Regions from separate parts of the Homo sapiens genome. Here regions 1, 3, 4, 5 and 6 are each linked to region 2. Evidence: promoter capture Hi-C in human tissues and cell types (Jung and others, 2019). All regions are on one chromosome and are shown on one strand. The core of a region is centred on a gene start or on the middle of the fragment in contact, and the rest is flanking DNA. Distances in the headings are between cores, read along the strand shown. Region 1 overlaps ANKS1A (ankyrin repeat and sterile alpha motif domain containing 1A). Region 2 holds the start of ZNF76 (zinc finger protein 76). Region 3 overlaps ANKS1A (ankyrin repeat and sterile alpha motif domain containing 1A). Region 4 overlaps TCP11 (t-complex 11). Region 5 overlaps ANKS1A (ankyrin repeat and sterile alpha motif domain containing 1A). Region 6 overlaps ANKS1A (ankyrin repeat and sterile alpha motif domain containing 1A).

Region 1 (4,986 bases), core at 568-3,067, 230 kb after region 2:
GAAGAAACTGGCGTGCCTGCCTGGCAAGGAAACGAGAAGGTTTGAGGGTGGGAGGACATAATTGCAGCTTCAAATATCTGAACAACTATTATGGAGGACTGCATGCATGACCTACCAAGAAGGTAAAACCAGAATTGATGGGGTGGAAGTCACAGATTTTAGCTGGATATGAGAAAGGATTTTTCATTATTTCATAGACGTAACGGTGGATGGTAGAGGGGGTTACTTGTGGTTTACAAGCAAAAGTTGGAAGATCATTTTTATTTATTTAGTTAGTTACTATTATTATTTTTAAACCAGTCAAGTACGGTAGTAAAGAAGGTCACTTTTAGACAACACAGAAGTGACTTTGTTCATAAGGGAGCTGGACTACATGGTAACTAGGATTCCTTCCAAATTCCAAATTTTAGAATTTGCCAGAAATCATCACCTCACTTTTCAAGTCACAAAAGAAAAACCTAACAGCCCCCCATCTTAGAGAGCAGTAAAGGGAAGAAATGCTTTGAGTCTTAATATTACGGTAAAAAAGGAAACACATGCTTCTCCCAGGAGACTCCTTTCGTAAGTTGCTTTCCTTCATACACAAAGACCAATATTTTTGTCTGCAGTTAGAGGGAAAAAGTAAGATAAAGCTGCAATAATTTGGGTTGAAACAAGAGGAAATGAAAAGTAACTGCTAATTAATGCTGAAATAAAGGTTTAGCTCACCTATATTCTAAATACAATCCTTAGAAGATGTAGTTCCAACTGGTTTCCCACATTTATCAACCCTAAGACCGTAGGCAAGTCATTTCAGCTCTCAAAGCTTTAGTTTCATCACCAGGAAAAGTGAATCAAATAGTGGGCTAGATCAAATTGTTGCTAAAAATCAACAGGATGTCTAGCACTCCTCATAGCAAAATGAATTCCGAAGAAACAAAGATTTATACCTGAAAAATGAAACCATAAAATATCAGGAGGAAATTATGTGTTTGTGTGTGTGTATATATATAGAATATGTAACTATATATATATAAAAAATAGATTTGTAATCAAATAATATATATTTGTATATTACATATAAGTATATATTATATATGTAATTATATATGTATATGTAATAATATATATAATGTATATATACAAATAATATACATATATTTGTAATCTTAGAGTAAGGAAAGTCTTCTTAACTGGGATACAAAATGCAGAAGTCGACTGGGCGCCGTGGCTCACGCCTGTAATCCCAGCAATTTGGGAGGCCCAGGTGGGTGGATCACCTGAGGTCAGGAGTTCCAGACCAGCCTGGCCTAATATGGTGAAACCTCGTCTCTACTAAAAATACAAAGATTAGCTGGGCGTGGTGGCAGGTGCCTGTAATCCCAGCTACTCAGGAGGCTGAGGCAGGAGAACAGCTTGAACCCAGGAGATGGAGGTTGCAGTGAACCAAGTTTGTGCCACTGCACTCCAGCCGGGGTGACAGAGCAAGACTGTCTCAAAAAAAAAAAAAAAAAAAGCAGAAGTCATTCAAGATTGATAGATTCAACTACATAAAAATTCTAAATTTCCACATGTTAAAAAAAACATAAAAATACCACAAGGCCAAAAGACAAATCATATCATAGATAAAGGGCTAATTTTTCTCAAATACAAAGAGCTTCTACAAATTAGTAACAAAGAGATCAATTCAATAACAACGTTTAAAAAAAAAAGAGAAAAGGAATATAGAAAGTAGTGTTTTGTAAACATATAAAGAGATGCCAATGTCACTCATAATAAGAAACACACTTTAAAACTAACCCAAGATAAGATAACATTACCAATCTGTTAACCAAAAAGAGACTAAAAGGCTGACCACCCTCATGTTGATAAGGTGTTTACATGTTGTGGGTAGGAAAGTAAATTTAACACGCACAAACTCTTTCACACAGCTGTTCAGTTTCTAGAAACATCTTACAATGACTCTGTACAAGGATTTGCATTGCAGCAATGCTTTAATCAGTAAAAGCTTGGTAACATGTAGAATGTCCACCTACAAGAAACAAAAATAAATGATAGTATATGCACACCATGGAATATTATGAACAATAAAAAAGAAAACTTCATGTACTCAATTAGAATGATTTTCAAAAAATTACTATTACATGAAAAAAGCAAGGTTCAGAGCAGTACACATGAGACAGCACCATTTTGTCTTTTAAAAAGAAAAATGCTTAACATGTCAGAAATGCTTCTACATGCAGAGAATATTTCTGGAAGGATATTCAAAACACCAGGGAGAAGAACTGAAAATCTGGAAGACTTATTTTTCACTATATAGTCTTTGGTACCTTTAAAATTTCACCTAGATTCAGGTATTATAATTTTAAAAATACAAAATCCCTAAGGTATAAACATTCCATTTCTAGGGTTAGCTTTGCCTAGATTTCTACATACAGTTAGATATGGAGGTTAAGCTATATATTCCCTCCAAGGACACAGAAACAGCCTATGACCTTGAGGCTGGGAGATCTCCACCCTTGAAGTACAGTGTGAAGATGGGATGCCAGTCCTCTGCCACTGCACCCAAGTTCCACGGCACTCTTCACTGTCCTTTGGCCCAGTACAGAGGGCCCAAGCTGCAAAACCAGGACTGTATGCCCACTGCATAATGGATATAAGGCTCTTCCATGCTTTTGGGGGAAGTTCTGTTGAAAATAACTAGATCCAAAGTGGAAAGGAAAGGAACCAGAACATTTACACAAACCACAACATTTCAGCTGAGTTTACAATGGCTTCTTGCCTGTTTAAATCAGGACAGCCAAGAACAGACTGCCAGATAAATTGTCATTTGTAGGCACCTAGTGAGCTTAGGCAGTTTTCCACCTGTCCAGGCAAATAAAACAGGCTGCCTTGAGTTATGGACAGGTGGGCCCTGTGGCGCCAGAGACTGGGTCATTAGAGCTTGTGAGCAAGAGTAGGATACCTGGGAAAGATTCGCTCAGCATCTTGGCCCTGCCCAGCAGCTACAGGCCACAGACATTCTTCTTACCCACTGGCTACTCACCTGGTAGCATCAAAAGGGAACATCTATGGAGAAGAAAGCAGGATAAAGGAGCCCTAGGCAGGGAGGGTAGTCGTCCATGATCTGATCTCATCTCACAGAGCTGAGATCAGAGAGCACATCTTTGAGGATGCTGGCATAACACTGGGGTCAGGAAAAGACCCTGTGTTGTTTCTGAGGGTCACACATTTCAAAGGAAGTGCAAATGAGGTCCAGATTAATTGTTTTCTCAGAGTCTTACATAATAAAAAGCCTATCCCCCACCATCTGGCTGCCACTCTGACCACACAGCATATCTCTAAACAAATTAAACTTCTCTGGGATATATACACACACATGCGTGCATGCATACACACAGACCACCTTCATATCTGGTCTCTAAGAAGCTCCCTCTACCCTGATGTCCCCTAAGTCCACCCAGGATCAGAGAATGTCTGAGGCCACCAGCATCTCCCTCTCTTACTGGTTGTAATTACCTATGGGCCTGGCTCCTGAGAGGATGTATTTAAGATTCATCAGGGCAAATTATTTGTGGTGAGTGCTCTTTTAGGACATCAGCACCATTTCTGTGTTCCAAGTGGTGGTGGCATACCCTCAACTCACCTTCCCTGCCTCCATGAACACCCAATCAGTTGGCCTCCCTCACTGGATCTCCCATTTCTGAGATTTCTGGCCATCTTCTGGTCTTAGTAATTTTGAATTCTCTTCCCTTTGCTTCGTGATCCTGGTTTTCAGATTTTATTTCTGCCTTGAGTATGCAATGAGCTTATGGAAAGGCATTTCCTAAGACAATGACCTATAACCCAGCCCCTCTGCCAGAACTCACCCAACATCCTTGCCTAGGATGACAACAAGAACAATGATCAAGTTTGAGAAATTATGATTTCATTCTAGTTCAATAGCTTTTTAAAAATGTGGGTATGTGCATGTTTAAAAGCATGCACCCAACAGCTTAAAATAAAGAAATCAAGGAAAAAAACCAAGATGAGAAAGGCAACAGGTAGCAATCATGACTAAAGAAAAAGGAAGTTAAAAGTAAAAGTCAAGTTATAAGGTATATTTGTAAGACAATATTAAGTGTAGGGTAGGATTTTAAATTTCTCTTACAGGAGAAATTAATTAAGAGAAAGTAGCCCAATAACCACTCATGCTTCTCCCTCCCCACCCCAAGCATGCACAGCTTGCTCCTTCACGTCCTCCTCAAAGGGGCCTTCCTTGGCTGACTCACCTAACGGCAGCAATCCTCCCACCGCACCCTCTAATCCTGTTCTTGGCTGTATTGTTCTCATAACCACTCCCATCATCAACTACATACTACGATTTTTACCTATTCATTCTTTTTAAATTCTCATTCCCCTCTAGCTTTCTAGAAAGCCAGCTCCATGAGGGCAAGAGGATTTGTCTGTTTTGTTCATTGCTGTATCCCCAGCACTTACAGCCTACCTGGAACAGAGCAGGTGCTCAACAAATTAGCTGAACGTGTAACTGTAATACAAATATACTTCAATTTTATACTATTACTGATTATGTAAAATACCTCTACTTGTTCTTAGACACAATTGCTTAGAATAATATAAAATGAACTATTATTCCCAAAGTCATACAAAATCACGCACTCTGTATCCTACTGATACTTTACTAGAAAAACAAGATACAAAACCAGAACCAAAGTATAAAAAGAATATCCCAGAAAATGTTTCCTTCTCTGATTCTCAGCATTTGTATGGACTGGAATAAAGGTCAAATTCCTCTCATCTATAGTCACCTACATTCATTGTCACCCAAGCTTTCAGTTTGTAACATAACAAAAAAGGGAGAAAAGGAAAATTCTCCTTTTGCTGGTGATTTTGCAAATACCCCAGCTCCCTCCCTGGTGCTTGATGGTGCCCTCTTGCTGCAGCTAAAGGGAACCAGGCTGTTTAGTGGGGGACTGGGGCTGGCGGTGGGTGTGGTGGCCTGCGGAT
Region 2 (4,659 bases), core at 73-2,572:
ATCAGTCTGGAACCTAGGTTTGTTATGAACTCAATGCCCCCAAATGAAGCACTCTGCTATACTGCTTTGCAAACATGTTAACTGATGGGGCCTGATCAAGGGAAATGGGTATGCACTATGAAGAGTGAAGAGGGTGATCCGGGAATGAGGGAGTAAGGTTCATGATGCAAGCAGATCCTGGGATGAGGTTACAAGAGGAAATTTCCAGGGTGGGGTACAAAAATGATTGCAAAAAATTATTATCTTGACTGAGAACTGCATAATTTCACAATTTCACAGACGGAAGGAAACTCAAAGATCATCTAACCCAACCTCATCACAGTCATGATGAGAAACTGAGGTCCAGACTGAGGAGGGGACTTCTCACAGGTCCCTAAAGCACAGCAGTGACAGAGCTGGGACCACACACTGGATTGACTGGATTCTGGATTGATCCAGAATTCTCTGATGCCTCCAATTATTACTACTTCATATTAATCTCTATATCCTCCTTAGCACCAGAAAGGTGCTGGACGCTTGTAAGTCATGTGCTGATTGACACTGAAGGGCTGGGATCGCAGAGAGAGATGCCAGTGGGGGTGATTTTAGGATAAAGGCAGACGTGGAACGAGGGTCATACGGCTACAGGATAAAGATACTGAGGGTTGTGTACAAGGTGAGTGCGTGGAAAACTATTGGAGTAGGGCTTAGGAGTCGCCAGCAGAGTTTTGAGGGGAGTCACCGAGTTTGTGGGGAACACAAGGTAGAATCGGGGGGGTTACTGGGCCAGGAGGGTTACCCAGGTTTGGGGGTCACTAAGGAGGAGTGTGGGGATCTCAGGGTCATGTGAGTCACCGGATTAAAACTGAGGGAGTCACTGGTTGGTGGGTCTCTGAGAAGTGCTGGGGAAATTCCTGGGTTAGCAGCCAATGAATAATAACCAACGGTTACCTGGTGAGGTCTTGGGGTCAGTGGGTGGGGTGTGGGGTCACAAGGGTGGAGGCGGGCGCCGTCACGGGGTGAGGTTTGGGAGTCACGGGGGAGGAGCCGCAAGGCGGAAAAGAGGGGCAGGGACCCTGGGTGGGGGAGGGGGCCCGGCCGCGGTCCAGCGGCCAGGCCGCCCTGCTAGGGCCGGAGGGAGGTGGGCACGCCGGGCTCGGGACCTTCCCGGGGTCCTGCGCCCGCCCGGCCTCCCGCCCTGGGCATGGTTGGCCCACTCCTCCCGCAGCCACCAACCTGACAGCCCCCGAGGGCGACTCCGCCGACAGACCGCCATGCACCGGGCCCCGCCACCAGCGCCGGCCCCACAACCCGCCTGCGCCATAGCCCGCCCGCCCGCGCGCAGCTTGCCTCGCGCGATATCCAGGTTCCAGGGCCGCCGCACTTTCCTTTCCTCTTGGCGCGCCTCTACCGGGCCCCGGAACCCGTATAGAAAATACCGGGCACGGTCCACCCCGCCCCCCGCTTCGCCGCGGCAGCCATCCAACTTATCCTGGTTCCGGGGCTCCTGGAGCCCAGGCGGCCGGGATCTGAACCGAGCTCTTCGGAGCCCCGCCCCCACCAAGGCCGGGGTGACGCATGGCCAGCGAGGCTGAGCGCCCAGGGAAGGCGTGCTGACGTCACGACGCCCGGGTCAGGGCCTGGGCGCGGCTCGGAGCCGGGTCGTCGCTATAGCAATCGGGAACCGCTACCTGTCCATTCCAAGGATTCGGTCCAGCAGAAGCGTGAGGAGGTGGCGGAGGCCCCGAGGGCTTTGCGTCATCACTTCTGCGGCCTGCGGGCGAGAAGGTGCGCTTCGGGAGTAGCGCGGGAGGACAGGAGGCGCAGGTTGTGAGGGACGCAGGCCCTGGGGCTTCGGTCTCTGTCCTCCGAGCTCAGAGCCTCCAGGCTTCTTCCCGGCCGCGCGCTCAGCACTCACTGTCTTACGGTCCCGAAGCGCTTTAAGGTGCGCAGTCCGCAGGCCTTGCCTACTGATCTTCCAGCCACCCCTTGAAGGAAGCAGTTGCAGGTATTAAGAGCTCCTTATTGAAAAGGACGATGTAGAGGGGCGGTGAGGGACTCGCCTCCGCAGGGAGGGCGCCCTGGCGGTCTTCTCAGGTTCTCTCTCATTCCCGCGTCAGCTCCACCGTCAGGCTCGAAACCGACTACTCCCTTTTGTAGGCTTGCTTTGGGTTGAACATAAAAACCAAGCCCCTTTACTATTTCCCTGCTGGGAGGGGCTGCGATTGGGAAATTTTCAGAAACCTGAGGGAAAATTAAAAGGGAGCGAGCTTTCGGTAAAAAATCAAATTAAAAAGGAGGGGCGTTAGAGAAGGAACTGGTAAAGATTGCCTTTTAGGAGAGGAACTGGGTGGCTGGAAGAATGAGGTGAGAAACTTTCCCCTCTCTATCCTTTCAGACTTTAACTGGTTTCTTTTGTATCTTCCCCGCCCCGAAAACAATTTAACTTAATAAGAATAATTTTTAAAGGACGTAAACTAGACACAGTTACAAAGTACGGGGTTTGGGGCTTGTGGTAGCTAAAGGTGTCTTTGGGGATGCGGGCATCCTTTTCCTCTCCTGCCTGAAGAGCTTAACTAGAAAGCCCCCCTTTCGGTCTTAGACATCCCCTCTTCCTGACTTGTTCTGGCTGGGACCAGAGTTCAGTTTAGGTAGGCCAGTGAGTGACATTTGATGGTTAGAATTCCTACGGTTAGAATTAATCCCTTCTGTATCTCCTAGTATGGAAATAAACTGCCTGGCCACTATGCTGCCCTCTTTCCATTCCTTTTTGGTGGAAGTTTGACAAGTTATTTCCCATAGAAAATAACTTATAGGCCGGGCGCCGTGGCTTAAACGCCTGTAATCCCAGCACTTTGGGAGGCTGAGGCGGGCGGATCACGAGGTCAGGAGTTCGAGACCAGCCTGGTCAACATAGTGAAACCCCCCCTCTCTACTAAAAATACAAAAAAATTAGCTGGGCGTGGTGGCGGGCGCCTGTAATCCCAGCTACTCCGGAGGTTGAGGCAGGAGAATTGCTTGAACCCGGGAGGCGGAGGTTGCAGTGAGCCAAGATCGCACCATTGCAGTCCAGCGCGGGCAACAGTGTGACTCCGTCTCAAAAAAAGAAAAAAAAAAAGAAAAAGAAAAAGTACCTTATAGATACAGAGAGAAGATTAAGTAGCTCCTCTTATAATATGAATTGAGGGTTAGAAATACCGCAGGGAATAGAACTCAGGCTGTACCTGAGTTTGTCCCTCTCCAACCACCCTTTTTCCATAGCTCTCTCTGTATATATATATCTGTCTTTTCTCACATTCCTTACGGATCGTAATCTGATGGCCAGTCACCTCTGCAATTATACATTTAACAAGAGCTCTGGGAAACAGTGTCTGAATCTGAAGTAATGATCCTAATGGAAGGTAATTTCAGGTTCTCAGGAGAATTGGTGAGGATATTTTGGAGGGCAGTATTGAAGACCATTGCTAGCAGTTTCTCTCCTATCCCTTCCACTCAACATATAGGCTGGTGATCTTCAGACATTTTTTAGAATGAACCCATAAAAGAATTTTGAAGAGCTATGTACCTCTTGTTCATTTTTAAGTTGATACCTAAATTTTCCTTCATTAATTTAAATACTTATAGAGGATACAATTTCAAATTTTGACATCTTAAACTAAGACTTACATCATTCTTTTTTTCTGAGACGGAGTCTCGCTCTGTCAACCAGGCTGGAGTGCTGCAGTGGCGAAATCTCAGCTCACTGCAACTTCCCCTTCCAGGTTCAAGCAATTCTCCTGCCTCAGCCTCCCGAGTAGCTGGGACTACAGGTATGCGCCACCATGCCTGGCTAATTTTTAGTAGAAACGGGGTTTCATGGTGTTAGCCAGGATGGTCTCGATCTCCTGACCTCGTGATCCGCCCGCCTTGGCCTCCCAAAGTGCTGAGATTACAGGCATGAGCCACCACACTTGGTCTACATCATTCTTAATGTATCTGGCAGGGCAGGCACAGTGGCTCATGCTTGTAATCCCAGCACTTTGGGAGGCTGAGACAGGCGGATCCCGAGGCCAGGAGTTCGAGACCAGCCTGGCCAAGATGGTGAAACCCTGTCTCTACTAAAAATACAAAAATTAGCCGGGCATGGTGGTGCGTACCTGTAGTCCTAGCTACTCGGGAGGCTGAGGCAGGAGAATCACTTGAACTCGGGAGGCGGAGGTTGCAGTGAGCTGAGATCGTGCCACTGCACTCTAGCCTGGGCTACAGAGTGAGACTGTCTCACATTAAAAAAAAGTATCCGGTGGATTCCAAGTACCCTAAAAATCTAATGCCTACCATCATCCACTTAAAAATATATGAACAAGCTCTTCAACAGAAATTTTATATGGTTCTCTTTCTCCTTATACTTTGAATTCCATTCACTTCCTGTAATCATTAGTATATAACTTACTAAACTTTTTTTTTTTACTAAATATTACTAAATACTAAATTTTCCTAAATATTTTTAACATTTTTATGACTTGTGAAACCTAAAAAGTACAATTTTTATTGAAAATGCATCTGTTAATGAGAAATATGGTGTTTCTCCCCAATTAGTTCAGGTATTCATGGATTAATATTACCTAATGGTAGAAGGAGATAAGGTGCAACATCAATCCTTTACCTGTTTTTTATTTTTATAGACATGAGTATTGAGAAACC
Region 3 (4,527 bases), core at 764-3,263, 210 kb after region 2:
TGTGGGAAGAGGAAACAGCACAGTCAACCCTCCCAGGCAATTCACATGCATGCTACGAGTCTGAGACCCCTGGTCTAACCCAGTGCTCCGCCACCATCACGGATGAGACTCTTGAGAGCCATCTTGGAAGCTGCAGAGACCAACGCTGAGGTGCACTCTGATTTAAGCCCATCTAAGAAAGCCCATAAAATAATGAATAAGTTACGATTGTTGATCTAAAAATTTTTCCCAATAGGCAGCTTAAAATTCATTTTGTCCCTTTTCCCCTCCCATATGTAAAAGGAGTCATGGCTCTAAAAATAACAGCAAGATGGGGCTGTCTAGGTATTGGAGACTGAATTATAGGAGCATGACGTGGTCTGAAGCTGACCTCTCCCACCCACTGAATGTCTGTCTTCTGTGTTAGAGGAAAGCCTGAGCCAGAAAAGAGCCAGACTGCCAGTTTCTGTGGGGAAAATGGCCACTTAGTACGGTACCTGAGATCTTCTGCCGTTCCTGAGAAAAGTCAATCCCTTCTCCAATAGAACTCATGATTTTCTCAATCTGAAATGGAAGAAAGAACAAAGAGGAGAGGCAGTCAGGCTTGGGGTAAACCTTACCAGCTCACCACAGCGCCAGTGGGGTCTGACCTCCAGGTCTCTTTCAGATGCTTCCCAGGACCAGCACCAGCCTGCAAGGTATCAGGACTCTGCTGCTCAGGTCTAAGAGAGGCCTTCTCTGGCCCCAGCCCACAGGGTCCGATGTACTGCTCTGAAGGGAGTGAGATGGTGACAGTCTGGGCTTAGCTGCTAGAAATACTGAAGAGCCTCCCTTTCAAGGCATCTCTATGTCACTCCCCAGCAGTTCTCCCAGACCAGCAGAGACTGGGGAGAGGCTGCAATCACAGGCCAGACCTGGCCATCTCATTGCTCACGCTAGAATTTCAATTCCATGAGAGTGAAGACTTTGCCGGCTTTGTTCCATGCTACCCTGAGTGCCTAGGGTAGTGCCTGGCAAATCATAAGCATTCAACAGATAACTGATACTGTATGACCACAAGCTCTGGGGAGTGAGGATGATTTCTAGAGCGCCTGCATACAGAAACCTCTGGGAAGGAAAGGTGAGGCAGGCACTTAGGCCCAAATGGAAGGCCTTTTGCTTCTTGGAGTCCAGCAGTCCTGGATAGAGCTCTGCGTTCAGGAGATGAGACGGGGCACAGACACCTGTCCCTCTTCTGGACCACAGCAGAGAAAGCTAGTTTCAAAGCATCCAATGGCTCCAGCGCTGCCCCCAGTATGGACCACCTGTCCCAGCCATCTGGCCTTGGCCACTATGGGCCAGATCCAGGCCCCCTTCCCCAGGAAACCTGGCCAGGGGCAGAACTAGGCAGTGGGGAGCAGCCACCTTCTCTTCTTCCCCTCCTCCTCCTTTTTGGGTTGCAGTGATAATGAGCTCATTCACTGCTCTTTTTCCAAAGGAATGAAAAGAGGACCTTTTGTACCAGGGCTTGGATGCTTTTTCCTCTAAGTGCAAGTAAGGAGCCTGGGTCAGACAATTGGAAAAACAATTCTCCAGCCAGCCTTCAGCTGGCAGACAAAGCCGTGCATCTGACACCCAGCAGAAGAGCACAGAGCAAGCGCCATCTCTCCTTGGGCAGCTGGGGGCTCGGGGAGGTATCTTCCTCCAGCCACAGAATCGACTGCTGGCTCAGGCTGTCATCTGACTGCCTGTTAACCAGACTGCAAGCTCCTTCCCTGAGCTCAGCAAGGCAGAGGGAAACGAATCTGACCCCTGCAGCAAACTGAGGGTGTGTCTCTAAACACTGGCCCCAGCAGCCCAGAGGCACAGGGAGGAAGGATAGTGTCAGAGCAGGCTGGCTCTGCCCCTTGAAGAAAACGCCTCCCTCCACCCCCATCTCTTTCTCTGGCCATGTCTGTTTCAAGTGCTGCCTCCTTCAGCAGGGGCAGCATGATACAAGGGAAACTCCCCAGACCTCCCAAAGCTTCCATTTATTTTTATTTTTATTATTCTTTTTTTTTTTTTTTTTTTTTTTAACAGAGAAGAGGTCTTGTTATGTTGTCCAGGCTGCTCTCAAACTCCTGGACTCAAGTGATCCTCCCACTGAATAGCTAAGACTCCTGAATAGCTAAGACGACGACGACAGGTAGGTGCCACCATGCCTTGCTATTTTTTTTAATTTTTATTTTTTTTGGAGGCAGGGTCTTGCTCTGTTGCCCAGGCTGGAGTGCAGTGGTGTGATCACGGCTCACTGCAACCTTGACCTCCTGAGCCCAAGTGATCCACCCACCTCAGCCTCCCTAGTAGCTGGGACTACAGGCGTGCAACACCACAGCCGGCTAATTTTTTTGTTATTTTTTGTAAAGGCGGGGTTTCATCATGTTGTCCAGGCTGGTCTCAAACTGTTGGACTCAAGTGATCTGTGCACTTTGGCCTCCCAGAGTGCTAGGATCATAGGCATGAGCCACTGTACCTGGCTATTTTTTCTTTTTTGTAGAGATAAGGTCTCACTATGTTGCCTGGGCTGGTTTCAAACTCCTGGGCTCAAGTGATCTTCCTGCCTTGGCCTCCCAAAGTGCTGGGACTACAGGTGTGAGCCACCATACCTGGCAAGCTTCCATTTAAAATGGATAAAAATGAGGATGATACTGCCTTTGTCCAGGGTTGTGTGGATTAAAAGATATCATGTACATAAAGCACCTGGCTGAAGGTCTAGCTCACAGTAAATGCTCAATAAAAGGTTAGTTTGCTTTCCACTTCCGCTCTGTTGTCCTCTGAGTGCTCCAGTCCAGTAAAACCTATTTTTAAAGTTGTAAAAATATTTTTACTTACACTTATTTTTTGATACATTCACATGATTCAAAATTCAAAAGATACAAAATGTTATTCAGAGAAAAGTCTCCCTTACCCATCTCCCAGTTGCCTCTCCGCATTCTATTCTACTCACACGCAGAGCTTAACACTGTAGACACCAATGAGGGTTGGCATCAAGCGTATTTTATTTGCCTTGTCACCCGCTGGGCCTGGCACATGGTAAATAGAGAACCTATTGAATGAATCTGTGAATGAACCAAAGTGTAGTTTCCATTTCTTTAGAGTCTGCACTGGAAAAGCTGTTCTCCACGGCCATGCAGCGTGCTGGGGAAGGAAAGGGCTGAAATGGTGGGGTGACTCCAGGGTATCCTCTGAAATAAAGTCATATTATATATTTCATTATCACCATAATCACTTAACATCCGAAGCCCCAGCTGGCCTGTCCAATCAGCATCCGTTGGTGGTACAATTTGTGAAATTTTGCCGAAGGGCCTTTTGGCATCAGAGTGAACAGAGTTGAGCACCCTCGCTGCTTCTCCGCTCTGCTCTTTCCTGCTTGCCCCAGGAGTCACCCACTAGTCAACTGACATAGGCCAGCAGAAGCCCAGGTTTCTTTTCTTTTCTTTTTTTTTTCTTTGAGACATGGTCTTGCTCTGTCACCCAGGCTGGAGTGCAGTGGCGCAATCATGGCTCACTGAAACCTTGAACTCCTGGGCTCAGGGGATCCTCCCGCGTCAGCCTCCCAAAGCACTGGGGTTACAGGTGCCTGACCCAGAAACCCGGGTATCCATGTGAGGTGTTCCAGACTGCAGACCGGCTGGGAAATGCTAATGGATGCTCTCAGGACGATTTTGCCCAGGCTAGGAAGTTGTTCTATTGTTCTGTGAACTGCCATGGCTAAGTCAAGCTGAGCTGGTTCTAGTTCCAGAAAAACTCAGGGTCCTCGGCAATGGACTCACAGCCTGTAACCCTGGACTCCTTCCTCAGCAACTGGAACCTGTCTTGGTGGAAGCTCAGGGCCAGGAGGGACATGGCAGCGAAGAGGTCCTGTTTGGGCAGAGATTGGCAGGTCCCCACCCTGGCACCACAGAGTGTCTGGAGCTGTGGTCTGCCCAAGCCCTCAGCCTGAGCTGTGCAGATGGGGAGAAGCCGGAGCTCATCTTCTCTCCTTGCCTCAGACTCACCCTCATGCCCAGAACCAGCAGAGAGGAAATAAGATCATTTCAATCTACACAAAGAAGAGCGTTCAGACACAGCAGATATCATTCTGATCTATACACTTCATGCAGTTTAACCTCCTAGCTTTAAGTTAAAAAAAAATCTGAACAGGCAGCTTTCCCAGAAATGGTCTGCATTTCAGGGGAAGAGGCAGGTTAAGTGTAATGGACGGGCACCATTTAGTGTTCTCCTCTTTTTCTGTGGTTTTGGATGAGTGACATTTTTGGAGAGAGATGAGAAATGGCCATGCTTCCTTATTAGTGCACTTCACGTGAACTGACTGAAAACTTATACTCGTGTTTGTTAATATAAGGACTTGAAAGTTATCACCATAATGGACTCTTGTCTTCAAAAAATGCTTGGAAATACTCCATTTTCAAAAAGTTTTCAGGACGACTCTGTTTAGACTATTTTTCCCTGCCAGGGCTGTGTAAAATGTATTCCCCATATGGCTGAAAACAAGAACAAAAACAAACACTGGAGATACTGCTGCTCAGG
Region 4 (5,141 bases), core at 648-3,147, 140 kb after region 2:
GGTTAAGTCACTTGGGCCTACAGGTCATTCTCTGATGGCACCCAAGAAATCTGACATTCCCCCATCTCCCAACAAGAAACTAATGCTGAATTTAGCTGGAAGACATGTTCCTATAGTGGGGAATCCCCTACCCTCATGCTGGAGTGGAGGCCATGAACTTGGCCAGCCTGCTCCTAACCTTAGCCATCTGAAGGATCAGTCTAAGTTCCTCCTGTTATGTCAAACACTCACTAGGATCTAACTGATGGCTACTTAAACAATCTTTTGAATAATCTGAAATTTACTAACACACTAGTTTTTTATATTTGTCCTTGAGAGCAAGATAGCAGCCCCCTTTCCAAACAAAACAAATTTCATTATCTCTAGGTAGGGGGGCAGGTTGGTACATATCTGTTAACTTAGAACATGGGTGAGTAGAGTGCAGGGGGAATTTTCTCCCTGAAATCTGTTTGCCTTTTCCCTTATCAGTGTCTTTTCCTGCTCACAGATCAGCGGATCCATTTGTTTCTCAAATGCTGTTTGGTTCTTGGTGTGCAGCGGTCTCTATTAGACCTTCCTGGAGGCCTTACTCTCATTGAAGCAGAACTGGCAGAACTGGGCCAAAAGTTTGTCAACTTGACACATCACAATCAGCAGGTGTTTGGTCCCTACTACACTGAGATCCTAAAAACCCTCATTTCCCCAGCCCAGGCACTGGAAACAAAAGTGGAGTCTGTTTGATAGCGTCGGCTCAGAGCCCTGGTACCTTGGACCCAAGAGGAGGCCCATCATCTTCCTGGAGTAACATCACCAGTGACCAGCAGACAGTGAGCTTCTATCCCAGGCCCTGCAGCCAGTACACCAAGGCTGTAGGGATCAAGCATGTAAACACCAACTGGTCCATACCCATTCATTAATAAACTTCTTAAGTGCAAGAAATCCTCCATTTTTCCTGTGCTGCAGCTGAGGCCAAGCCCTAATGACTTCAGCCCTCAACTAGCTGAGAAGCCAGCAAGCCCTCAGTTTTCCCCTCTCTGGCTATGTGTACCTTTCAACATATAGAGCTGAACAGCCAAGATACCCAGGTGCTAGCCTTATTTTCTTTAAGGGTAAAGCATTACTCCTGGGGAGCTCTTAGACCTCTGGAATTATCCAAATTGTGAATATAAGGGTTTCTTTTGGAAGCCTTTGTTTTGTCCAGTTCACCTCAGGAGAGGACATGGTTTAGGGAAGTTAGTTCATTTCTAGGACCAAATTTCCCTAAAGGTTTCAGAGAATGCAACAAGAAGTCAAGGGATATTAAGAGCCTTAGTTTCCTCTTCTGTTGCATGGTCTGAAGCAATATGCATACCCGGGGCTGGATGAAAATGGATATTGGCTACAAGCAAGCATTCTGTTGAGGACAAGTTCAGAGTTCATGGGACCTCTCTCTCAAGTTATCCAGAGTTCAGACTTGGACAGTTAGGTCTGTGACTCACTTGTATCAAGTTTATTCTGGTCCTGTTCTCTAGCCCAGTAAGTCTCCTTTCCCTCATCTCTAAGCTTAGAACACCCGGTTTTTCCAGGCAGAGGTGATGTGGGCATTCAGAGGTGGAGCAGCCTCCATCCTTCTGGCTTCTCCATTCTGGGCAGTTGTGGTTGTAAGCTGTTGTTGGCATCACAAATAAGAGAGGTTCTAGGAAGGATTTGGGCTTGTCTCCTGAGATTGTAGAGACCAACTCATTTTCAGGCTGACTGCAGCAGACCAGCTCCAACCTAGTATGGCTGAAATGAAGAAAATGTTCAGTTCAGATTTAGAAAATGGAAATTCAATTATGTGTTCTCAAGGCAAGGTGAAGAAAAACAATGTTCTCATCATTTTAGGTGATGGAAGTTGCTGAGTGTTAACACACCTAATCTAGGAAGAACAACAGAAGGGGGATTTGAGTTCCATTAGGCCCAGTGTTTCCTTCTAATTGATTTCCTTTTTTAGAGGGTAGATCCTAGGTAGGTGACAGAGCTAGATCAACACAATGTGACTTTTACTATGACTAGAAAAGCTGGAGGGCCTGGATCATTTGCATTTTTCGTCTTATAACTAGACAGCTTCAGGATGGGGAAGCCCAGATAAAGTGGTATGTTTAATAAACAGTGAGGCTTGCCCAGTTGGATTCTCTGATTTGTAACTATTAATTTGAATTTTTAAAAAATCCACGTTTTGGAAACCTCATTATTTTAGAGGTAAAAGTACTCTGAAGGGATTCCTGGGAAGAAGATTGTCCAGTTGGCAGGTGCAGACCCTGGACTGATAATAGAACCTTGCTTTGTACTTCACAATTAAAATAGGGACTCATCAGTACCTTAGAAAATTTGAATTTATTTTCTTATGCTTTCTCATGGAGGAGACAGGGATCTTGTCCCTAAACAAGGAAAGATAGCTCCATTCAATCCTGCCCACTGGTTTGAGGGAATTTTAAAAAAATGTATATTTGTATTTTAAATTGTGGAGAAAATACATGTAATATGAAAGCTATTAGTGACATTGAGTACATTCAGAATGTTGTACAGCCATCACGACTAACTAGTTCTAGAACATTTTCATCACCACCAAAGGAAATCCCATTCCAGTAACCAGTCACTGCCCATTTTCCCCCATTCCCTTCCCCTGGCAACCACTAATCTTTCTGTCTCAATGGGCTTTCTGACTCTGAATATTTCCTATAAATGGAATCATATAATATGTAGCTTTTTGTGACTGGCTTCTTTCACTCATTTTTCAACATTCATTTGTGTTCTAGCATGTATTGGTAGTTCATTCTTTTTATAGCTAAGTAATATTCTGTCACATGAATATACCACATTTTGCTTATCCACTCATTAGTCCATGGGTATGACTTCAGCCCTCAACTAGCTGAGAAGCCAGCAAGCCCTTAGTTTTCTCTTCTCTGGCTATGTGTACCTTTCAACATATAGAGCTGAGCATTTTGGCTTTTGTAAACAATGCCACAGTGAACACTTGGCGTTATTTACAAAACTCATACATAAGTTTTTGTTTGAACACCTGTCTTCTATGTTTTTGAGTGTCTACCCATATATCCAGGAATAGAATTGCTGAGTTCTATGGTAATCCCTGCTTAATTTATTGAGAAACTACCATTTTGAGTTAGTATTTGTATATGGTGTAAGGAACAGATCCAGCTTTATTCTTTTGTATGTGGACATCCAGTTTTCCTAGCATTATTTGTTGAAGAGACTGTCCTATTCCCATTGATGAATGGTCTTGGTCTTTGACTGTTGTCAAAAATCGATTGACCATATATGCAAGGGTTTATTTCTGGACTCTATTTTATGCCATTTATCTATATGTTTATCCTTATGCCAGTAAGATATTGTTTTGATTACTGTAAGCTTTGTAAGTTTTGAAATTAGGAAGTATAAGTTCTCCAGCTTGGTTGTTTTTCAAGATTATGTGGCTATCCCTTCCATTTCCATATGAATTTTAGGATCCATTTCTGTAAAACAGGAAGTTGGAATTTTTGATAAGGAGATATATATATATAAATTTGGGGAGTATTGCTATCTTGTCTTCCCATCCATGAACACAGAATGTCTTTTCCTTTTGTTAGGTCTTTAATTTCTTTCAGCAACCTTTTATAGTTTTCAGTGTACAAGCCTTGCACTTCCTTGGTTAAATTTATTCCTAAGTATTTTATTCATTTGGATGTAATTGTTAATAGAATTGTTCTCTTAATTTCTGTTTCGTATTGTGCATTGGCAGTGTATAAAAGTAAAACCAATTTGTTTGTTGATCTTGTACCCTGCAACTTCACTGAGTTTATTATATCAAATACTCTGTGAATTCTTTAGTATTTTCTACATATGAGATCATGTTATCTGAGAATAGGAATAGTTTTGCATTTTTTTTTCCTAATTCTGATCCCTTTTATTTATTTTTCTTGCCTAATTTCTCTGGCTAGAACTTCCAGTACAATGTCTAATAGCAGTGATAAAAGCACTTGTCTTGCATCCTGATCTTAGGGGGAAAGCTTTCAGTCATTCACCATTGAGTATACAGTTAGCTATGGATTTTTCATAAATACCTTTTATCGTGTTGAGGAAGTTGTCTTCTATTTAGTTTGCTCACAATTTTTTTTTTTAATCATGAAACGGTATTGAGTTTTTTGTTTGATTTTTTTTTTTTTCTTTTTTTGTAGATAGGGTCTCGCTCTGTCACCCAGGCTGGAGTGCAGTGGGGCGATCACGGCTTACTGTAGCCTTGACCTCCTGGCCTCAAGTGATCCTCCTGCCACAGCCTTTTGAGTAGCTGGGACTATAGGCGTGTGCCATCATGCCTGGCTAATTTTTGTATTTTTTGTAGAGATGAGGTCTCACTGTGTGGCCCACACTGGTCTCAAATTCCTGGGCCCAAAAGATCCTCCCATCTTGGCCTCCTAAAATGTTGAGATTACATGCATGAGCCACCACACTTTGCCTTGGATTTTGTCAAATGCTTTTTCTGCATCAATTGAGATAATCATATGCTTTTCTTCCTTCAGTCTATTAATGATATGTTGTTTGATTTTCTTTTTTTTTTTTTTTTTTTGAGATGGGGTTTCACTCTATCGCCCAGGCTGGAGTGTAGTGGCACGATCTCGGCTCACTGCAAACTCCGCCTCCCAGGTTCATGCCATTCTCCTGCCTCAGCCTCCCGAGTAGCTGGGACTACAGGCACCCGCCACCATGCCCGGCTAATTTCTTTTTGTATTTTTAGTAGAGACGGGGTTTCACCGTGTTAGCCAGGATGATCTCGATCTCTTGACCTCGTGATCTACCTGCCTCGGCCTCCCAAAGTGCTGGGATTACAGGCGTGAGCCACCGCACCCGGCCTTGATTTTTCTTATATTGAATCAATACTGCATTTGTGGGATAAGTCCCATTTGATCATGGTGCATAATCCTTTTAATATGCTGTTGGATTCAGTTTGCTAGTGCTTTGTGGAGGATTTTTGCATCTGTATTCATAAGAGATATTGGTCTGTAGTTTTCTTGTGGTGTCTTTGTCTGGCTTTGGAATCAAAGTAATGCTGGCCTCTTCTGTTTTTTGGGGGAGGAAGAGTTCGAGAAGGATTGGTGTTAATTCTTTAAATGAGTGGTAGAATTCACCAGTGAAGCCATGTAGTACTG
Region 5 (4,657 bases), core at 945-3,444, 250 kb after region 2:
AACTGGGGGCCAGCCTGGCTCACACTGCCTGGGTGGACCTCAGAACCCAGGCCACAGAGAATGTTCTAACTGCTGCTGTGGGAGCCAACAATGCAGGCCCTGTGAAACAGCCACCCATTCATGCTAGCTATCAATGATGAAAGAGAGACAGATGCCAAGGGCTCAATACCAGACACATGCCAAGGGGAAGGAAGTGGGTAGAAGGAAAGAATGGAAACTTACGGAGGAAGGAAATATGTGGAGGAAGAATCTCTGAGGGTCATAATCCTATTAGAGAAACCACAATCCACCAATATTTTGTGGAATATAAGAAATGATGGAAAGAAATTCTTATAATCATATGACTTAGCCAGGCAATTCCTAAGAAAGACACTTTGGTATCTGAAAAGCTTGCCGAGATCCAAGACCCTAAGGCTGGTGTTCTTGTTCCCATTAAAAACTACATCCAAGGCCAAGATGAGTTTTTTTTGGCAGATCAATGGGTGGGAAAAGAATTACTCAATGGTTTCTTCCTTCTGCAAAGTAAGGATAATATAAGGTCTCTTAGGGACAAGGTGCTAACAATAGAATATACTGATCAAGAAGCAGTTTTTAAGCAAATCACTTCTTTGTGCAATTCTGGGATCTTAATTGGGGGATTGTTGCGGTAATTAAATTATACGTGTAATGCATTAAGAACCGTGTCTAGCACATGCCACGCTCTCAATAGATGTTGAAATTGTTATTATCCTCCACACAGGGTCCGTTACAACACACTTTGCTCACAGATGAGACCAACTACTTCTCCGTTCCTCACAGGTCTGTCACAAGGATCATCAAAGATAAGGTACATGAAAGTACTCTGTAAGATATAAAGCACTTCACAAGCATTCATTACCTTCACCATCCTTATAACTCTGAACAGCAGAAGGAAGGGACAGAAGGTAATATGGTGAGAGGGCTGAAGTGAGAAACTCTGAGACAGGCCCCAGAACTGTCACTGTAACCACTCATCCCATGGACAAATGTATGAAGTGTCTGTCCTCAGGAGGCACCCAGGTGGATATGAGGATAAAGAGGCCGGGTGTGGTGGCTCACGCCTGTAATCCCAACGCTTTGGGAGCCTGTGGTGGGAGGATTGCTTGAGCTCAGGAGTTCAAGATCAGCTTGGGCAACATGGCGAGACCTCATCTCTATAAACAATTTAAAAATTAGCTGGGTGTGGTGGTGCACACCTGCTGTCCCAGCTACTTGGGAGGTTGAGATGGGAGGATAATTTGAGTCCAGGAATTCAAGGCTGCAGTGAGCTGTGATCATGCCACTGCACTCCAGCCTGGGAGACACAGCGAGACCTTGTCTCACCAAAAAATAAAAAATAAAAAAAATAAAGACACCAAGTCTGCCTCAATAGATGCTTTAAGACAGGCATAAATCATATGCTTGGCAGACAAAAAGGAAAGCCTGATTACTTCGAACCAGAAGGCTTCTCAGAAGAGGTAGCTTTCGAGCTGAGCACTGAAGGAGAAATAAGACCTTGTCAGGCTTACAGAGAAGTAAAAATACATTAGAAAAGGCAGAGAAGGGCCAGGTGTGGCAGTACATGCCTGTAATCCCAGCACTTTGGGAGGCTGAGAGAGGAGGATCACTTGAGCTCAGGAGTTAGAGACCACCCTGGGCAACAAACCTCACGCCCAGGGACTAGTGAAGTTGCAGAAGAGACCCTTAGGCCTTTCTCCTACACTACTTCCCATGTTCCCCGAGCTCTGCCCTCCCCACAGTCTGCCCTTCTAGGAGAGAAACAAGGAGATAGTGGCACACAGGGAGGGAGGCCTGTTTCTTATGCTACCCATACATCGAGGCCAGCTGTTCTACTCAATATGGCACACCAGCATGCTAATTCCCAATCCCATCAACTTGTGATCCTCATTCATTTTCCTTATACCCTGTGAGCTACTGAAGCAAGGGGTCTTCTGTGCTGCATTTTAATTACTACGATGAGCTATGGGATCTCAAGGGCTTTTGAATAATAACACTTCAACATTTACACATTTTCATTCACCTCTGCCCACTTAAATTAAGGCTAAAGAATGCAGCTCATGTGAGGAGTTGCTAATTCAAATCTCCCCTCAGGCCCAGAGAAGAAGGCTGGGGGACCCAGTGTCTCATATTGTTTTGTGTTCTCCGTATCATTAGGATTGGAATCCTCCAGCTGCCTAGTCACTATAGTGAGCATCAAAAACCATGGGTGTGCAGGAGAACTCCCAAGTACATGGCTGCTTTCAGAGGGTCACCAGGCTCTTCCTGGAAGGAAGGTCCTGACCAAGTTATTCAGACACTTGCTGAAGACTGCAATTTGATAAGACAAATAGACTGAGAGTTCATTTTGGTCCACGGCAACCTGAGAAATAGAATAAGAGCTAGACAGGGATTCAAGAAGCCCATGTTTTAGTTCCAGCCCCGTGACTTTTCCTCTCTAGGTCTCTTTCAAAAAATGAATGCCTGGGATGCATTCTCCAGGGCTTTGGGATTTAGGCTAGTTTGAATCTGTGATTAAAGGACCTCTCTATAGTCCCTACCAGTTCTATGATGTTAAGAACATGAATAGCAGAAAGGCTTTTGATGAAATGGTTTTAGCCTCATGGTTAAAAGTACAGGCTTTGGATTCAGTCACACTAGGGTTTAAGTCTCAGCTCCAATACCTAACCTTTTCTTCCTCAGCTCTGAAACAGGGACAAAAATAGCCCCTACCCTGAAGATCTGTCACAAGATATACAATGACATAATCAACATAAAGGAAATCAGCATGGCAGCTGGCCCGTGGGAAGCATTCAGTAAATGATAGCTGCTATCATTATCACCATTTTTCATTTACAGTCATTTCTGAACTCTTAGCTCATCATGCTAACACTGCACAGAGAGGCTGGTTTCCCTTCTCCTGACTCTGCAAAGGAGACTGATTTATTCTGAGTAGCCCTTTTAAAGAGGCAGAATAAAACTCAAATGCCAGGGAAGGCCAGTATTCTTATAAGTTTGGTTTGGGATTACATGTAATAGCACAGTGGAGAATCTTCAGATTAGGAGCCATCTGTACTCACCTTGGGGCCCATAGGTATAGCCCAGCTTTGGGACTTCGGACTGTTTCACATTGACTTGGTCTTGATTACCTCATTACATCTCCCCCTTCTTCTTGAACTCCTAAAGCGTCTGTTCTCTACCTGTCATTGGACCTCTGACCTCTGGCCCCCAAACTTCCCTAGTTTTCAATATACCAGCTTTGCCTGGATCAGCTTCCAACCAGCCACGATTTCTAACCATGCCTAATTTAATAGCATATTTGCTGTCTTTGCTCCCCTTGATCTTCTGCCAGTTCTTGTAGTGGGTATTCATAGCCATTTGCTTTCTCTTCTCCAGTTGCTGGAATGTTGAGCCCTTTTAAATACTCAAGAAACAACTGACTTGAGTCCTCTACCAATTCACCTAACTCAGCTGGCTTCCAACAGCTACTACTTATTGAGTACTACTCCTTCTGTGCCAGACACTATGCCAAGCATTTTCTTTTTAATATTCACAACAACCATGAGGTAAGAATTAGTATCCCTTCTACATGTAGAAACTGAGGCTTAAAGAAGTTAAATGATTCCCTAAATAATAGTCACCATCCAGTAAGTGCTAGAGCAATAATTCAAATGCCAGCTTGATTACCAGGCTCAGTGAGCTTTTCATTCATCTCTTGAAAACTATGTAAGATCGATTTCCTCATCTCTTCTGCTCTCTTTAAGCCATCATCTTTACCCACAGCACCTGCACTTTTTGGAGGACAATCACACCAATTTCCCGAGAAGACAGATCAAACTTTTTTAATGACTACTCTCAACACCATGTAAAAATTGGGGGGTAATTTCATCACTTCTCTCCTACCTTAGAAATTAGACCCCATTTAGGCTTTACCAATGGCCTTCTAACTGCCTAACCCTTTTTCTAGTTTTCATCCTTCTAGCTCTTTCTAGATCAATGGATACTGTTTGTCCATTGCCCCCAGTACTCACTCTCCCCTTCCTTCCTTGGTTATGGGACTTTTAGACAGGTTCACAGCCACCTAGAATAAAGACAATTATTTCCCACCTCCTTTGTAGCAAGGTGTAAACACATGACCAAGTTCTGGCCAGTGGGTTATAAGTGAAAGTGGCATGTGTAACTTTTGGGAACTATCTTTAAAGTGCCATTCTCCCCTTTCTTCCTTCCCATGCTGATGCCTTGAACTTGGATAGCCATCTTGAACCATGAGATGGCAGAAAGGGACTGGGTCCTTAATGGTCATGAACTGTTGTTGAGCCCAGCACTCTTTACTTCTATCTTGTTCAACCAGAGTTATTGAGGGTTTTCTGTCACATTCAGCCTTAGCTCCTAAGATATTGCATTATCCCAGTTATCTTCCTATGTTTCTTTCCCCTTGTGCCTCTAAACATAAGCTCTACTCTTTAAAAAAAAAATTATTATTATTATTTTGGAGATAGGGTCTCACTCTGTCGCCCAGGCTGGAGTTCAGCAGGCTTGACCTCCTGGGCTCAAGCAGTTCTTCCACCTCAGCCTCCAAGTAGCTAGGACTACGGGTGCACACCACCACACCCAGCTAATTTTTAAAAATTTTTTATTTTCGTAGAGACAAGATCTCACTATG
Region 6 (5,008 bases), core at 1,764-4,263, 190 kb after region 2:
CCAGCCTGACCAACACGGTGAAACCCCGTCTCTACTAAATATACAAAAATTATCCAGGTGTGGTGGCGGACGCCTGTAATCCCAGCTACTCGGGAGGCTGAGGCAGGAGAATCGCTTGAACCCAGGAGGCGGAGGTTGCAGTGAGCTGAGATCGCGCCACTGCACTCCAGCCTGGGTGACAGAACGAGACTCCATCTCAAAAAAAAAAAAAAAAAAGAAAATTAACCTTTTATCTATGAAATGAGTTAGATATTTGTTTTCCAGTTTGCTATTTATCTTTTGGCTTTTATGCTGGCTTTGTTCATGTAGAAATCTATTTTTTGTAGCTAAGTGTACCCAACTTTTCTTGCAGAGCTTCTCAGTTATGTCAGGCTTAAAAAGATCTTGCCTTTCCAAGATTGTGTTTTACATTCTTCTATATTTTTTCCTGTAATTTGTTTCCTTTTTTATAGCTAAATCTTTAATCCATCTGGAAATTATTTTGCTGTAAGGTGTAAGAGTCAAGATCCAACCTTATTTTTGCCCTGGCAGCAAGCTGTCCATTTCTTGATGAGCTATCTTTTCCCCCCAATCTGGAATGGCCTCTATGGTGTCTGAAATTCCTGTGTATTTCTGGGCCTCTTTCTGGACTTTTACTCTGTTGTGGTGGGCATTACTTTACACTTGGAAAAGCTAAGTGACTTGGGCCAGCTCATGCAGACCATGACTTGCTTGGCCCCCGCCCCGTGTGGTGACTGCTGGCCACGGGAGTCTCCCCAGAGCCTGTGCATGGTGACATAAACGTTGTCCCACAGAGGACACTGCCAGACTTAAGCTTCAGAGAGCCCAGGTGAAGAGAGCCCCAAAGCCAGGCTGGAAGCCCACTACTCTGCTCCACCTGCAGAACACACCCCTTGCTGGGCACAAGCGAGGCCTGGGCACCACTCCAGGTCTGAGGCCAGCCAAGTCACCCCCAAATCTGAGAGTCACCACAGAGTTCCTACAGTGGCTCTGGGACCAAATCTAACGTCTGCTGTTGCAGAAAGGCAGAGAGAGGCAGCCGCCTTCCCAGACTTTTTTTTTAAAAGTGGAGTGCAGTGGTGTGATGATGGCTCACTGCAACCTTGACCTGGGCTCGAGTGATCCTCCTGCCTCAGCCTCCTAAGTAGCTGGTACCATAGGCATGTACCACCATGCCTGGCTATTTTTTTTTTTTGTAGAGATGGGGTCTCACTATGTTGCCCAAGCTGGTCTTGAACCCCTAAGCTCAAGTAATCTTCCTGCCTCGACCTCCCAAAAGTGCTGGGATTACAGGTGTGCACCACTGCCCCTGGCCCCGGCCCAGACTTTCTACCTGATTATGAGGATACCAAAGCGAACGGCTGAGCTGAGCCTGCCTCAAACCTCCAAGAGGACGTGGACGTCCAAGAGTGACTGCGGCACCGCAGTGATGTTCTAAACTCCCACTCAACCCCAGCATTGACTCAGAAACCTTCGCCAGCTTTCAGGGCACCTGAAGGCTGACAGCGAGGAAAGCCAGATCCGCCGGAGACAGGCCCTTTGCTAACCAGACCTTGGCCAGCAGAAGGGCGGGCTGTGTGCAGCTTTGAGGAACAAGAGATGAATGGAAACACACAAAAATAAAGGAAATGACAGAAAAGAAAGGCAAACCATTGCCAGAGCACATTCCGGGCGCAGCGCGGGGTCCTCCCAATTCCTGAAGTAGCCATATCTCCGCACCGGGGGATGAGCTTGTGTGGTGACTACTCAGTGCCACATATCCTCAAAGGGCAAGAAACGTTTCTGGAAGTTACCACACCCTCTTTACTCAGGGAGAAGGGACCACTGGCTTTTAGAAACCTCTTCACAAGGAGGGTCATGGGGGAAAAGAGATTTTCTACTTTATCTGCTACCATGCTAACATTTACTGAGTACTTACTACATGGCAGGACACTTCTATAATTAGGAAGTGAATAAAGGACAACAGTTCATTGTCCTAGGGATTTTAGTTAACAGGGATTGTCTCAGCTTTGATAAAAGCTTCACAACTCCAAGTGACATCTGAAACACACAACTAGTCTTCCGGCCTGGCCTGGTTTGGGTCCAGTCCCTGAGGAAGAGGGGACAGGAGGGCTCCCAGCAACCAAGGCGGGACAGAGCACTGATCTTCGCCTGGGATCTGGGCCTCCCCCTGTCCTGACTCGCTCAGACTTCATATCGCCGGCAGGTGTCCGACTGCTCCCCGCTTTGCAGAGGAAAAAGTGCTCCCATGGAAGAGGCAGAGCCAGGATGGCCCCTGGCGGCCTGGCTCCTCAGCCTGTGATCATGGCCATGGCCTGCTTTGGAGAACTCAAGGGAAGGGGACAGCAAGAAGTGCTCCCCTGGGTCACTGAGCTCTGGGCATAACAAGAGTTCCCTGGGCACCCTCTGCCGGGCTTTGTGGGAGGTGACGTGTGACGTGTGGCCTGTCCTGGGCTCACAGTGAAGATGCGGGCCAGTGATACTGAGTTCTGACCACAGTCCAGCACTGTGCTAGGGGCTTCACACCCATGACCTGCAAAAATCCGCCCAATAAACCTTTCAGATAGGAGCTGCTCACATTACACAGAAAGAAACTGAGGCTTGGAGAGCAGACTGGACTTATCCAAGGCCATGGTACTAGAGCATGGCAAAGGGACTGCTCAGGCCCCATCTGACCAACCCCAGTCGTCTTCCTCGGCTCTTCCTGCTGGGGCAGGCAGGGTGTACTGAAGACAAAAGCAAAGTGTGGGGGTGCGGGCAGACGCCTGCCAGACAGCAGGAGCAGGACACCCGTCCTGGGCTGGGGCACAGCCCCTGCTGAGCTGAGAGCCAATGCTGCCTCCCTCCGTAGAATCCCATCTCTCAGCATCGCGCATAAATGCTCCTCCCAGGACCCTCTCCCTCCTGGCCACCTTTTCTCCACCTCTCGGGGAAGGGACACTGTTCCTTTAACTGTACAGAATCCAATTCTTAGAGGTGAGTGGGTTCAGAAATGCCAGGGCCTCCAATAAGGGAGAAACAGGGTCAGGATGTGGGCCCAGGCCTCTGGATACATAGCACGGGCACTGTGCCAAGGGCCAGCCTGACTCTGGAAGAAGCCAGCCTGGCCTATTGGAGTTCAGTAAGGGGCTGGGTTTGTAGAGTCGCCCATGATCGTGGCTGGGTGCCCTTCCTTGGTAAGGTACACGTGAAGCGTCTACCATGGTGGCTGTAATCAGTGTCACTTTCCATCAACCTAAGCCATTTGAATGCTTTCTCCTTCCTGCGAGTATCTGTCACTGGGCTCCACCTGAAGATGCAGAAGGTAGCTGAAAGCATGGAGGCCCAGGCGAACGGAAGGAGCATGACAAGGGTCGGCCCGGGTCGGCCCCGGGCGTCCTGGGAGAGCAGGAGGCAGGAGAAGCGGCAGGGGCTACTGCAGGACCCACACTGCTTTCTTCCTGGCTTTCTCCAGTCCACTGGGGCTCTAACATCTTCAGAGCCTTCCTGCCCATGTGATTTTAGAAGGAAAATATCCTTTTGCATCTTGAAAGGCATCTCACGTGTTAATATTTTGCTTAACTGCAGGTGAGGTCTTCATTCAACAAAGTGGCAAAGGCCCAGGAAGGGGACTGTTTGGGAGTGGTGACACACTGGTGTAGACCCTTTTAGCCAAAGGGGAAATAGGAGCTGTCCTAAGTTACCACTGAGGGTTGCAGGGCAGCCCCAGATGGGGAGGGGCCGGCCTGGGCCTTGGACTCCCTCTCCCTCCACACTGGTTGCTGGCTGGGCTGCTTCCTGCAGCCCTGTCTACAGGATGGGGCAAATGGCAGGACCGCAGGAAGGCTCCACGAGGCCGGGGTAGGTAGGAGTTTGCTTTGACTTTAACGGATCTTCTGGAAACAGGACCCTGACACATCCAAACCGCAGAGAAGTTCTGACTGGGAGCGTGTGGCCAGCTCAGGGGGTGTGGCTCTGCCAGACAGCATCTGGTACCTCAGCGGTATGAACCAAAAATAAAACCATCAGCCCCCCAGGAAACTGAATGGACCCCCCCTCTAGGCCAAGGGGATCCCACAGAAACCTGAAAAACAGGTTCAGGCCATGATGGGTAGGGGCATTGGACCTGCCTCATTACACCCTCCTCCCTGTGGAATTCAGGCACAACAGTCCCACATTATCATTAAAGCAGAGATCCTAAGACTGACCCAGCGGACTCTGTAGCAACAAGACACCGAGTGCCAACCTGACTCCAGTATGGCATCGCATGACAGACAGCAGCCCCGAAACAAAGTATTTTACCCCCAAATATATTTCTTTAGCATATTTTGAAATGGCCCTGCAAAGCTGCCTCTTGTGGGGGAAATTTACATTCTATAGAGGATTCCCTTCCCTTTGATTTCATACATTTTAGGGAGACACAAGACATCAAGCGATATATGTGAGGTATGCACTGGTTCAGTCTGGAAAGGAGGGACAACTCAAAGCTGAAGTTTGGGGGTGGTGGCCTTACAGGTCACAAGTGGATTCAAAGATTTTCTGATTGGCAACTAGTTGAAAGAGTTTATCTAAAGGCCTGGAGTCAATAGAAAGAGGTGTCTGGCAAATCAACCTAAGTAAGGTTGATGACAACAAGAAACTAGGGGAATGGGCAGGCCTCTGTAAAATAGACAGAGAGGGGAAACCCTGGAAAGTGGTTGGTTGCAGTTGTGTAGTAGTTAAGGACTATGGCAAGGAGTCTCAGGCCAAGGATGTCATCGAAGAGTCCTTCAAATGCAAGAAATGAAGAAATAAATCTTTGGCGCGCACACACACACACACACACAAAGAAAAAAGAAAGGGGTGTCTGGGTTAAGATAAAGGCTTGTGGGCTGTGCACGGTGGCTCACGCCTGTAATCCCAGCACTTTGGGAGGCCGAGGCAGGCAGATCACGAGGTCAGGAGATTGAGACCATCCAGGCTAACACGGTGAAAAACCATCTCTAGTAAAAATACAAAAAATTAGCGTGGTGGCAGACACCTGTAGTCC

What was found. Contacts are between HindIII fragments. The study calls those that stand out against the background at their distance.
Region 1: a contact is called between a fragment that was not itself captured here and the fragment with the promoter of ZNF76 in region 2, in 2 of the 25 tissues and cell types used here (dorsolateral prefrontal cortex and mesenchymal stem cells).
Region 3: a contact is called between a fragment that was not itself captured here and the fragment with the promoter of ZNF76 in region 2, in 1 of the 25 tissues and cell types used here (aorta).
Region 4: a fragment that was not itself captured here is called in contact with the fragment with the promoter of ZNF76 in region 2 in 7 of the 25 tissues and cell types used here (IMR-90 fibroblasts, adrenal gland, bladder and 4 more).
Region 5: a fragment that was not itself captured here is called in contact with the fragment with the promoter of ZNF76 in region 2 in 3 of the 25 tissues and cell types used here (bladder, mesenchymal stem cells and mesendoderm cells).
Region 6: a fragment that was not itself captured here is called in contact with the fragment with the promoter of ZNF76 in region 2 in 1 of the 25 tissues and cell types used here (mesenchymal stem cells).

The regions. Positions count from the first base shown.
Region 1 is chr6:35,025,859-35,030,844 of GRCh38, reverse strand. All of the region lies in intron 11 of ANKS1A (ankyrin repeat and sterile alpha motif domain containing 1A), which reads right to left. Among named protein-coding and RNA genes, the nearest start is that of TCP11, 110 kb to the left of the region's middle. The HindIII fragment of the contact is 3,162 bases long and covers 237-3,398 here.
Region 2 is chr6:35,256,398-35,261,056 of GRCh38, reverse strand. It overlaps ZNF76 (zinc finger protein 76), which reads right to left and starts at 1,322. Exons shown (of 14, transcript NM_003427.5): 1 at 1,216-1,322. SCUBE3-AS1 (SCUBE3 antisense RNA 1) reads left to right here and starts at 1,602. Exons shown (of 4, transcript XR_001744102.2): 1 at 1,602-1,767. RefSeq lists silencers at 890-1,209, 1,220-1,339. The HindIII fragment of the contact is 24,264 bases long and covers 1-4,659 here.
Region 3 is chr6:35,050,115-35,054,641 of GRCh38, reverse strand. It overlaps ANKS1A (ankyrin repeat and sterile alpha motif domain containing 1A), which reads right to left. Exons shown (of 24, transcript NM_015245.3): 12 at 477-543. Among named protein-coding and RNA genes, the nearest start is that of TCP11, 89 kb to the left of the region's middle. The HindIII fragment of the contact is 3,342 bases long and covers 343-3,684 here.
Region 4 is chr6:35,113,848-35,118,988 of GRCh38, reverse strand. It overlaps TCP11 (t-complex 11), which reads left to right. Exons shown (of 10, transcript NM_001370687.1): 10 at 488-914. The coding sequence ends at 720. Among named protein-coding and RNA genes, the nearest start is that of TCP11, 25 kb to the left of the region's middle. The HindIII fragment of the contact is 6,471 bases long and covers 1-5,132 here.
Region 5 is chr6:35,009,995-35,014,651 of GRCh38, reverse strand. All of the region lies in intron 10 of ANKS1A (ankyrin repeat and sterile alpha motif domain containing 1A), which reads right to left. Among named protein-coding and RNA genes, the nearest start is that of ANKS1A, 120 kb to the right of the region's middle. The HindIII fragment of the contact is 8,554 bases long and covers 1-4,657 here.
Region 6 is chr6:35,070,624-35,075,631 of GRCh38, reverse strand. All of the region lies in intron 13 of ANKS1A (ankyrin repeat and sterile alpha motif domain containing 1A), which reads right to left. Among named protein-coding and RNA genes, the nearest start is that of TCP11, 68 kb to the left of the region's middle. RefSeq lists an enhancer at 5,000-5,008. The HindIII fragment of the contact is 3,192 bases long and covers 1,418-4,609 here.